3 separate regions of the Homo sapiens genome follow, and regions 2 and 3 are each linked to region 1. The links are contacts of gene promoters, found by promoter capture Hi-C in human tissues and cell types (Jung and others, 2019). All regions are on one chromosome and are shown on one strand. The core of a region is centred on a gene start or on the middle of the fragment in contact, and the rest is flanking DNA. Distances in the headings are between cores, read along the strand shown.

What was found. Contacts are between HindIII fragments. The study calls those that stand out against the background at their distance.
Region 2: the fragment with the promoter of MAP1S here is called in contact with the fragment with the promoter of JUND in region 1 in 2 of the 25 tissues and cell types used here (dorsolateral prefrontal cortex and hippocampus).
Region 3: a contact is called between the fragment with the promoter of UPF1 here and the fragment with the promoter of JUND in region 1, in 1 of the 25 tissues and cell types used here (dorsolateral prefrontal cortex).

Annotation. Positions count from the first base shown.
Region 1 is chr19:18,279,937-18,283,351 of GRCh38, forward strand. JUND (JunD proto-oncogene, AP-1 transcription factor subunit) reads right to left here and starts at 1,686. Exons shown (of 1, transcript NM_005354.6): 1 at 1-1,686. The coding sequence starts at 1,548. The coding sequence ends at 505. MIR3188 (microRNA 3188) reads left to right here and starts at 2,141; the gene lies at 2,141-2,225. LOC124904652 (a long non-coding RNA gene) reads left to right here and starts at 2,156. Exons shown (of 2, transcript XR_007067154.1): 1 at 2,156-3,194. RefSeq lists silencers at 275-584, 1,165-2,164 and an enhancer at 820-1,671. The HindIII fragment of the contact is 27,320 bases long and covers 1-3,415 here.
Region 2 is chr19:17,717,911-17,721,325 of GRCh38, forward strand. It overlaps MAP1S (microtubule associated protein 1S), which reads left to right and starts at 1,570. Exons shown (of 7, transcript NM_018174.6): 1 at 1,570-1,710; 2 at 3,026-3,127. The coding sequence starts at 1,593. RefSeq lists enhancers at 1-101, 2,152-2,221, 2,612-2,761 and a silencer at 1,752-1,801. The HindIII fragment of the contact is 7,935 bases long and covers 1-1,952 here.
Region 3 is chr19:18,830,190-18,833,604 of GRCh38, forward strand. It overlaps UPF1 (UPF1 RNA helicase and ATPase), which reads left to right and starts at 1,770. Exons shown (of 24, transcript NM_002911.4): 1 at 1,770-2,251. The coding sequence starts at 2,021. RefSeq lists silencers at 1,574-1,833, 1,954-2,053, 2,204-2,293, 2,304-2,383. The HindIII fragment of the contact is 23,837 bases long and covers 1-3,415 here.

The DNA.
Region 1 (3,415 bases), core at 436-2,935:
TCCCATTTCTTTAAAAAACCAACACAAGAAAACACACACACACACAACCAACGTTTGTTCCCGAGTAGAAACATAAATAGGGCAGAATCGAACACTCTGTTCTTCTCTCTTCCAAAGAAAAAAAAAAAAAAGTAAAAGTAAAGGAAAGGCAGGGTTTGAGGCTGCGCCCCCTCGGAGCCCCCTTCCGCGGCGCGGTGTACAAAGGGGCAGCCGAGACGCGCGGGTTTGTGCAACACGGGGCGGCCGCGCGGGGGAAAGAGGCAGCGCGAGGGCGGGGGGGTCATGCGCTCGCCCCCCCGGGAGCAGGGGGTCCAGCTTGTCGAGTCCTGGGCACCCTCGGGGGGGGGGAATCCCCGGGGGCCGCGCCCTCTCTGAGTTCCTGGGCACACTCGGGGAGGGGGGGTCCCCAGGGCCGCACCCTCTCCAAGTCCGGGGCGCCCACGACACCCCCCCGCGAGCCCGCCCCTTGGGGAGGGTGGCCGCGCATGCGCCCCGCGCGCGGACTCAGTACGCGGGCACCTGGTGCTGGGGCAGCAGCTGGCAGCCGCTGTTGACGTGGCTGAGGACTTTCTGCTTGAGCTGCGCCACCTGCTCGCGCAGCAGGCTCGCCGTGGACGCCAGCTCCGTGTTCTGACTCTTGAGGGTCTTCACTTTCTCTTCCAGGCGCGAGATGCGCTCCAGCTTGCGCTTGCGGCACTTGGAGGCGGCGATGCGGTTGCGCAGCCGCTTGCGCTCCGCCTTGATGCGCTCCTGCGTGTCCATGTCGATGGGCGACAACGGCGGGCTCTCGCCGAAGCTCGGCACGTCGGGCACCGTCTGTGGCTCGTCCTTGAGCGCAGCCAGGCGCGGCGGCCCCAACGCGCCTGGGGGTGGCGGCGGCGGGAAGGGCACAGGTTCGGCAGCGAAGGCGACCGTCGCGGCGCCCCCCGCGCCCCCGGCGCCGCCCGCGTAGCTGCTCAGGTTCGCGTAGACAGGCGCTTCGGGCGCGGCCGCCGCCGGGGCCAGCTCGCCGGGGGGCGCGGAGCCCGTGGCCGTGCCCGAGGGCCCCCCGGCGGCGGCGGCGGCGGCGGCAGCGGCCGCGCCCGCGCCGAGCTGGTTCTGCTTGTGTAAATCCTCCAGGGCCTTGACGAAGCCCTCGGCGAACTCCTGCTCCTCGCTGGCCGCCACCTTGGGGTAGAGGAACTGTGAGCTCGTCGGCGTGGTGGTGACCAGCCCGTTGGACTGGATGATGAGGCGCTCGAGCTCGGGGGAGGCCAGCTTCAGCAGCCCCAGGTCGGGAGAGGCGAGCAGGCCGTCGGGGGGTGCCGCGCTGGGGGCGCCGTCGGCGCGCAGGGGGGTAGGAGGCGGCGCGGCCGCAGGCTTGAGCGCTGCCGCCACCTGCTCACTCAGGCTCAGCGTCAGCGCGTCCTTCTTCATCATGCTGCCGGCCGCGGCCGTCGGGGGCGCCCCGGGGAACAAGCGGCCCGGGGACGCGAAGCTGCCGCCGCTGCCACTGGCGCCGCCGCCCAGGCCGCTCAGCGCCTCATCGCCGTAGAAGGGTGTTTCCATCCTCCGCCTCCCCCGCCGCGCCGGCCCGGGGGGGAGTGGCCGCGGCCTCCCGGGGGGCCCGCGCCCCCCCGTCCGCTCGGCCCTGCGCCCGCCCCGGCCGCGGCCGCAGCGCCCGGCCCTCCACTGGCGGCGGCTCCTGCGCCGCGCCACTTGTGCGCCCTCTTATAGCCTCGGCTCGGCGCGATGAGCTCACCGCCCCCGTTCGCCATTGGGTGCGGGTGACGTCGCTCATTTGCATGGAGGGGCGGGGCCAAGCCGCCGACGCCCGCCCGGCCGCCGTTGCCCCGGCGACGCGCGGTAAACGCCACAACAGCGCGCTGCCTTGTGGGTTGACGTCATGGGGGCGGCCGCGCGCCCGGGCCGGGTCACCCCGCCCCGGGACCGCTGTGTACGACCGATCTCCCCGGCGCCGCCTCCGCCAAGGCACGTCCCGGGTGGCGTGATGGGCCCGGGCCACCAGGCGCCCGCCCGCCCCGAGGCCCCGCCCCGTGTCCGCGCGTGGGGCCCCGGCCGGGCGGGGGCGGGGGCGGGGGCGGTGCCGGCCTCCGGGGACTGGAGGGGGATGGGGTCCCGCATGGCTAAATAACTCCTTGGCGCCTCCTGCTCTGCTGTGCCGCCAGGGCCTCCCCTAGCGCGCCTTCTGGAGAGGCTTTGTGCGGATACGGGGCTGGAGGCCTGGTGGGGCTGTGTCCGGGGGCTCGCCGGGGGTGTGGGGAGGTCTGCGTTCCTCACCCTCCCTCCTTCCTTCCCTCCCTCCCTCCACCCCGCGTGTGATTGCTCAGGAAGAGACGGGAGGGGAGAGGAGGGTCGCCAGAAGTTGCTGAAAGCGCTTGGATCCTGATCATTTTCACTGAGTGCGTTCTAGAACCAGGAGTCCTACTTCCTGCCTTTACAGATGGGAAACTGGGCTCAGAGAGGTGGAGTGACCATCCCCCGAGAGTTAGCTAGGAGTCACAGCAGGGCCCGGGCTGTGACTAGGCCTGAGCTCTTGTCCACCCTTAGAACCCTAGAACCTGGGAGTCCAGGCCCCTGCGCAGCCCCTTCCTTCCGCCGCCCACGTTTTAACCCCAGGTCTGCCAGGGCTGTGATGTCCTGGGCGAGGGTGCCCAACTCCAGGGGCTGGGCTGATGAGGCAGGAATGCCGGGTATAATTATTACATGCTTGTTACCACTATCATGGCTGTTAGGGCTTAATGAGCCACTATTAAGACTGGCTGGGAAGGGGGTGTGAGGGAGGAGAGATGGACCCACCCCACCAATACTCACAAGGGATCCTTAGGACATCTGGATCTGACCTACAGCCTCTGCATGCACCCCTCCAGCTCCCCACCTCTGTCTGAATGGAGCCCACACCCTCCTTTCCCTGACCTCCTTCCCCTCACTCTCTCTGATCCTTGGCCTCCCAGTTGCAGGACTAATCGTACCTCTGGGCCTTTGCACGTGCTATGCTCTCTGCTTGGTACTCCCTTCCCCCAGTGCAAAGATGTGTCTTCAGGAAGTGCCCCACCCTCAGACTTTACTCCTTTATTGTAGCCTCTGAATCTGCCAGAATGATGGAGTGGACCATAGTCCCTGAAGGTCAGGGACATTGCCTATGCTGAGCCTGCTGACAGGGCCTCGCATAGAATGGATGCTCAGTATTAAAGGTGAATGCGGGGCTGGGTGTGGTGGCTCATGCCTGTAATCCCAGCACTTTGGGAGGCCGAGGCAGGCAGATCACTTGAGGTCAGCAGTTCAAGACCAGACTGGCCGAAATACAAAAATACAAAAAAAAAAAAAAATACGAAAATTAACCGGGTGTGGTGGTGTGCACCTGTAATCCCAGCTACTCAGGAGGCTGAGACATGAGAATCGCTTGAACCCGGGA
Region 2 (3,415 bases), core at 320-2,819, 560 kb before region 1:
CACTTGAGGTCAGGAGTTCGAGACCAGCCTGGCCAACATGGTGAAACCCCATCTCTGCCGGGCACGGTGGCTCACGCCTGTAATCCCAGCACTTTGGGAGGCCGAGGCAGGCAGATCACGAGGTCAGGAGATCGAGACCACGGTGAAACCCCGTCTCTACTGAAAATACAAAAAATTAGCTGGGCACAGTGGCGGGCGCCTGTAGTCCCAGCTACTCGGGAGGCTGAGGCAGGAGAATGGCATGAACCTGGGAGGTGGAGCTTGCAGTGAGCCGAGATCGCGCCACTACCCTTCAGCCTGGGCGACAGAGCGAGACTCTGTCTCTAAAAGAAAAGAAAAGAAAAGAAAAGAAAAGAAAAGAAAAGAAAAGAAAAGAAAAGAAACCTCATCTCTACTAAAATACAAAAATTAGCAGGGCATGGTGGCGGACACCTATAATCCCGCTACTTGGGAGGCTGAGGCAAGGGAATCGCTTGAACCCGGGAGGCAGAGGTTGCAGTGAGCTGAGATTGTGCCATTGCACTCCAGCCTGGGCGGCAGAATGAGACTCCATCTCAAGAAAAGGAAAGGAGAGGAGAGGAGAGGGGAGAGGAGGGGAGGGGAGGGGAGGGAGAGGAAGGGAGGGGAGGGGAGGAGAGGAGAGGAGAGGGGAGAGAAGGGGAGGGGAGGGGAGAAGAGGAGAGGAGGGGAGGGGAGGAGAGGAGAAGAGAGGGGAGGAAAGGAAAGAAAAGCCTAAAGAGGATTATCTGGGGAGAGAGAGGTACCCATGTGCGCAACGCAGGCAGTCCCTTGCACAGGCTGGATCTAGAGTAAGACCCACTTGGGTTCAAACCTGCTCTACCACTTACAGGCCTGGTGACTTCATCCCTCCAAATCTCAGTTTCCTCTTCTTTCCTCTGAAAGTGACCACAGTAACTGTGCCTACTCATCTGTGCCTACATACAAGCACAAAACTCATCGCTTTGTGCTTGTATGTAATGAGCTAATGCAATAAAATACCTGGCGCACAGGAGGTGCAGAATAAGTGTTGCCCTGTTCCAGGCAGGCCCAGAGTGCTCCGGTTGTGTCCCAAACACACATGTACTTTCTTACCTCTAAAACTTTGCACCTGCTGTAAACTTCTGCCTCACCAGCTCTTGCCCCACCACCCACAAGGCAAACTCCTACACATCCCTTAAAGCCCTACCTACAAGATAGATTTCTTTTCTCTGTTCAAGCCCTGACCTAGAGAGCTGGGAGCATCCATAGGCACCGGGTTCTGATGCGGCCTACTGTCATGTGATGTGAGTTCCTGGAGGGCAGGAGTTCTGACCTACATGCAGCAGGCACGCAATCAAAGCTTGTTCAATGAAAAAAAAAATGAATGAATGGTCACTTGGGAGAGGCGGCTCCCAAGCGGACACCCAGGAGTCGGCCAACCCCTTTAACGCCCGCATCCCCTGCTCTCCACGACCTCAAAGGGCCTGTAAGTGGTCGACAAAAAGGGGCGGGGATGCGGTGGTTCCGGGCGGGGTCTTCAGCCCTTCCGGTGCGGCCCCTTTAAGAGGCGGGGCCTGCGGGGCGGGCGCCGAGAACGCCGGGGCGGCCCGAAGATGGCGGCGGTGGCTGGATCTGGGGCTGCCGCGGCTCCGAGCTCACTGCTCCTCGTGGTGGGCAGCGAGTTCGGGAGCCCGGGGCTCCTCACCTACGTCCTGGAGGAGCTCGAAAGAGGTCGGGCTGGCCTGGGGGCCCGCGGGAGCCCGGGAGGCGGGCCCGTTCGCGCGTCTGGGCCCGGGGCCGGCGGGGTGGGGCGGCGGCGGCGGCGGCGGCGGGACCCGGGCTCCGGGGCGGGGGTCGCGGGCCTGGGGCTGGGTCCCCTTCACCGTTAGGCGCACGACGCGGGCAAAGGCGGGGTGCCCGTGGGTGCCCGCGGAGAAAGTGGCATCCGGGCCTGGGCTGGGCAGGGCTGCCCCGCCCCAACTCCGGGTGAAGATAGGGGAGGGGACACGGGCCTGGGCTTGGGGACCCTTGCAGTTGGACCACGGCTCCGCTTCCCGCCTGACTGGCCTGCCCGGGGGTAGGGCCTGGGGTCGCTTTGGATCTCCAGGTCTTAGCAGCTTAGATAGAGATCTCCCGGAGGGAGAAGCAGATATGGGGGAGGCTGGGCCTGGAGCCCCGGGGCCCGCTTTCTGTTGCCTCACAAGGAGCTGCTAATTGGGGTGTGGGCGGGTGCGGCCTGCCCTGGGGATTTGGCACCTAGGGAGGTGAGTCATAGGCGCACCTGCCAGGTTCACCTGCAGCCACTTGGCTCAGTGGGACTGGCGGGCGTGATGCGCCCGTGGGTGGAGATGGGTGTTCATCCCCCATCCCTCGGAGCATCTGGACCTGGCGTTTCATTGCATGTAAAATGGGACAGGAACACGCACCTCGGTTCATGTGCTTGAGGAGTGTTTAGTGAGCACCTGCTATGCGCCAGGCCTTTGGGCAGTGGACACAGGGATATGGCCGGGATGATAGACAGGTTCAGCCCTGCCAACACAGGTCTGGTTTGGGGATGGACCCAAAGCGAGTGAGGAGATGGAACAAGCTTCCAGCTCACATGGTGTCAGGAAGGATGAGAAGGCTGCAAGGGACTGAGAGGACAGTCAGTCTTAGCACCCGAAGGTGCTGAGGGGGAAGGGCCCCCTGGCCAGTAGGAACAGGTGGGGGCGGCAGGGGGATGGACTTCCAGGCAGGGGAAACAGCTGTTGCAAGGGCGGTGAGTGGAAACGGGTCTGGCAGGGCATAGGAGCAGCGAGGAGGTGGAGATGGAGGAGGTGGAGGCTTTGTTGCTGATGAATCTTGTGTGTAAAATGATGAGGTGTGCTCTGGGTCCCCTGGCTCAGCTGCAGCGAGACCTGAAGGTGTTGGGTACTTCTGAGTCTCCAAGCTGTGAGTGAAGGGAGGAGGCTGGGGCGCTCCCCACCCACGGGGTGCTAATTATTGAAATATTCTGGGAGCTGGGGGGCCCGGCTGAACTCCCGCCTTGATCCCTCCTTCCCACCAGGCATCCGGTCTTGGGATGTCGATCCTGGCGTCTGCAACCTTGATGAACAGCTCAAGGTCTTTGTGTCCCGACACTCTGCCACCTTCTCCAGCATTGTGAAAGGTGAGGCTGGGGTCCCCCTGACTGCTCCCTACCTCTTGTTATTTGGGGAAGTGCCAGCCGTGTGCCAGGCATGGGGGGTGGGATGCAGCTATAAATAACAACAGTAATAATACAGTTGAGACCTTTCAAATGCAAGCCGTGACCCAGTGATAACCCCCTCAGTCCTCAGCAACCCACAGTGCAGGAACTGGTGTTTTTGTCCCTGATTGACAGATGAGGAAATTGGCATTGAAGGGGGAAGAGGCAGGGAGATCTCTGAGGAGGGGGTTTTTTGATGAGAAACTGCTA
Region 3 (3,415 bases), core at 520-3,019, 550 kb after region 1:
ACAGTTTAAGGGGGAATACTGACAGACCAACAGATAATTTTAATATCATGCAAAGCTCTCTTTGGAACACATCCAGTGGAATTTGTAGACAAATTTCAGATCAATTTAGTAACACCTATCAGAGTTTTTAAAATTTATTTTTATACAAGGTCTTGCTCTTTTGGCCTCCGAAAGTGCTGGGATTACAGGCGTGACACACCGCACCGGGCTCCATATATATCAGCAGCAACCATATATCACATGAGAGTATGAGAGGAATAAATGAGCTACTAGTCACTCTATTTATATTAACATAAATAAATATATATTAATATACACACACACACATAGGATCTCTGTCACCCAGGCTGGAGTGCAGTGGCACAATCATAGCTCACCGCAGCCTCAAACTCCTGAGCTCAAGTGATTCTCTTGCCTCTACCTCCTAAAGTGCTGGGATTTCAGGAAAGAGCCACCTTGCCCAGGCTTCCTATGCCACCTTAATGGCAACAGAAACCCTAGGCTCAGAGAGGTTAAGTCACTTGTATAATTTCACACAGCTGGTAAGTGGTCAGGTCTAGAGTCCACCACAGACCATGTGCTTCCAGTTGTTTTGCTGTATACGTCCACTAAATAATAATCATAGCAAAAATAGTAATGGTATAATAACAGTGGCAGAGGCATCAGGAACAGCAGCAACCATCATTTCCAAGTGCCAGGCCCAGTACGTAAGACTATCCCCATTCATTTATTTTTACTTATTTTTGAGACAGGGTCTCGCTCTGTCACCCAGGCTGGAGTGCAGTGGTGCAATCTCGGCTTACTGCAGCCTCAACTTCCCAGGGTCAAGCGATCCTCCCACCTCAGCCTCCCTAGTAGCTGGGACTACAGGTGCGAACCACCACGCTTAGCTAATTTTTTTTTTTTTTTTTGAGACAGAGTCTCACTCTGTTGCCCAGGCTGGTGTGCAGTGGCACAATCTTGGCTCACTGCAACCTCCGCCTCCTGGGTTCAAGCGATTCTCCTGCCTCAGCCTCCTGAGTAGCTGGGACTACAGGCTCGTGCCACCACGCCTGGCTAATTTTTTGTATTTTTAGTGGAGACGGGGTTTCACCATGTTAGCCAGGATGGTCTCGATCTCCTGACGTCATGATCCACCCGCCTCGGCCTCCCAAAGTGCTGGGATTACAGGCGTGAGCCACCGCGCTCGGCCTAATTTTTATATTTTTTGTAGAGATGGAGTCTCACTCTGTCTCCCAGGCTGGTCTCGAACTCCTGAGTTCAAGCAGTTCTCCCGCCTCAGCCTCTGAGTGTTGGGATTACAGGTGTGACCACCGCGCCGAGCCCCACTCCCTTTTTAAACCAATGCACAGGGAGCATCTACTATGTGCGAGGCACCCTCCATTTTACAGATGGGGAAACTGAGTTCCAAGCAGCTTTTGCCAGGAGTGGGAGCGCACCGTCCCTGCCCAGTCTCTCCAGTTGGGCGTTCCGAGACCACCTATGTAGGGTATTCGGCTAGCGCTCAATTAAACCGAAACACCGTCGCAGCGACCACAGGTGCAGACCACCAAGTCCACACCGCCAGCCGCCCGGGCGTCCCCAATTAGCAGTTGGGGCGGGACCAAGTCCTCGAGCTGCCGCCGCAGCGGCGGTTGAAAGCCCCACCCCCTGCGCGTGCGCGGTGCGCGTCCCGTCTTCCTGCTGGGCACCAGGCGCCCGCGAAGAGCGCGCGCGCTTCCGCCGGCGTCGGGCTCGCGCACGCGCACGGCGACGGCGGCGGTGGCGGCAGTTCCTGCTCTAGGCTGCGAGCGGCTGGCGGCTTCGAGGGGAGCTGAGGCGCGGAGGGGCTCGGCGGCAGCGGCGGCGGCTCGGCACTGTTACCTCTCGGTCCGGCTGGCGCCGGGGCGCGCGGTTTGGTCCTTTCCGGGCGCGCGGGGGCGACAGCGGCAGCGACCCGAGGCCTGCGGCCTAGGCCTCAGCGCGGCGGCGGGCTCGAGTGCAGCGCGGAACCGGCCCGAGGGCCCTACCCGGAGGCACCATGAGCGTGGAGGCGTACGGGCCCAGCTCGCAGACTCTCACTTTCCTGGACACGGAGGAGGCCGAGCTGCTTGGCGCCGACACACAGGGCTCCGAGTTCGAGTTCACCGACTTTACTCTTCCTAGCCAGACGCAGACGCCCCCCGGCGGCCCCGGCGGCCCGGGCGGTGGCGGCGCGGGAGGCCCGGGCGGCGCGGGCGCGGGCGCTGCGGCGGGACAGCTCGACGCGCAGGTGAGCGGCACATGGCGGTGCCGGAAGCCCGGGCCCGGCCTCGGCGCCTGAGACCTGCCCCGAACTCGCCTCGGGCCCGGCCTGTGTTTGGCCGGAGTCCCCCATCGCGGCCGGGCCTGGGGCGATCTGCCCCGGGTCCCCTACTCTGGCTCGGCCTGAGCTTACCTGCCCCAGGTCCTGCAATCTGCCCGGGCCTGGCCTGATCTGCCCCGGGTCCCCCGCTCCGGCCGCGACCTGGCTGAGTTCCTTCGGCCCCCAACTCCTGGGCCGGGCAGACTTGCCTCGAGTCCTCCACTTCGTTCGGGACCGAGCTAACCTGACCCTGTTCCTTTACGCCAGCTGGGTTTGCTCCCCCTCCTGGGCCCGGGCTGACCTGCCTTGTGTCCCACAATCAGTCTGGCCTGGAGTAACCTGCCCCCTGACTTATCTGAGTTCTTCCATTCCATCCGGGCTAGGGTGACCTGCCCTGGTCCCTCTTTCGCAGGTCTCGGTATTCTGCCTCGAGTTCTCCTACGACCTGGGCCGGGTCTTGCTCAGGCCGGAGCTTGAGTGACTTCCCTCAGTCCCTTTCCGGGAGTATCCAGGGTGACCTGCCCTAATCCTGTCTCTGGCCTGGTCCGGGGGTCCTGCCCGGTCTCCCCATTGGTGGGTCTGGCCGCCTGTCCCACCTCCCATCTGTGGTCGCAGCCATCTGGGCACCCCACCTTTCACAGTCACGGAGCGTAGGTTCGACTTTCCCCATGCATAGGGGCGCTGGCCAGCGGAAGGTTGAGGCAGAGAAGAATTTTTGCCTCCCATGGAGGAGCACATATTGGCTGGCTATTAAGATCATTCAGGAAGCAGGTTGTATTTTGTTTTTTCTTGCATCGCCTGTTGCTGAAACCGACCTGTTACATAACTTCACAACTCTTGCCTTGGAAAAGTTGGGTTTGAGTTTTGTTCTTCCAATAAGACAGCAATAATGGCTTTACATAAACGAGTCTGCCACGTTGGAAACTTATTTTTAATGATGTGGATGTTTAGAGAAGGTTACTTAGGTATTTTAAATGGGGGCTTGGGTTGGGAGAAGTATCGGGCATGCATTTCCTGGTCCTGGGCGCTGCTTGCCTGGGGTGGGAGAGGGGCTGGGGGGGTGGCGCGTGTTGCACCGGGGTCCTGGGGAAT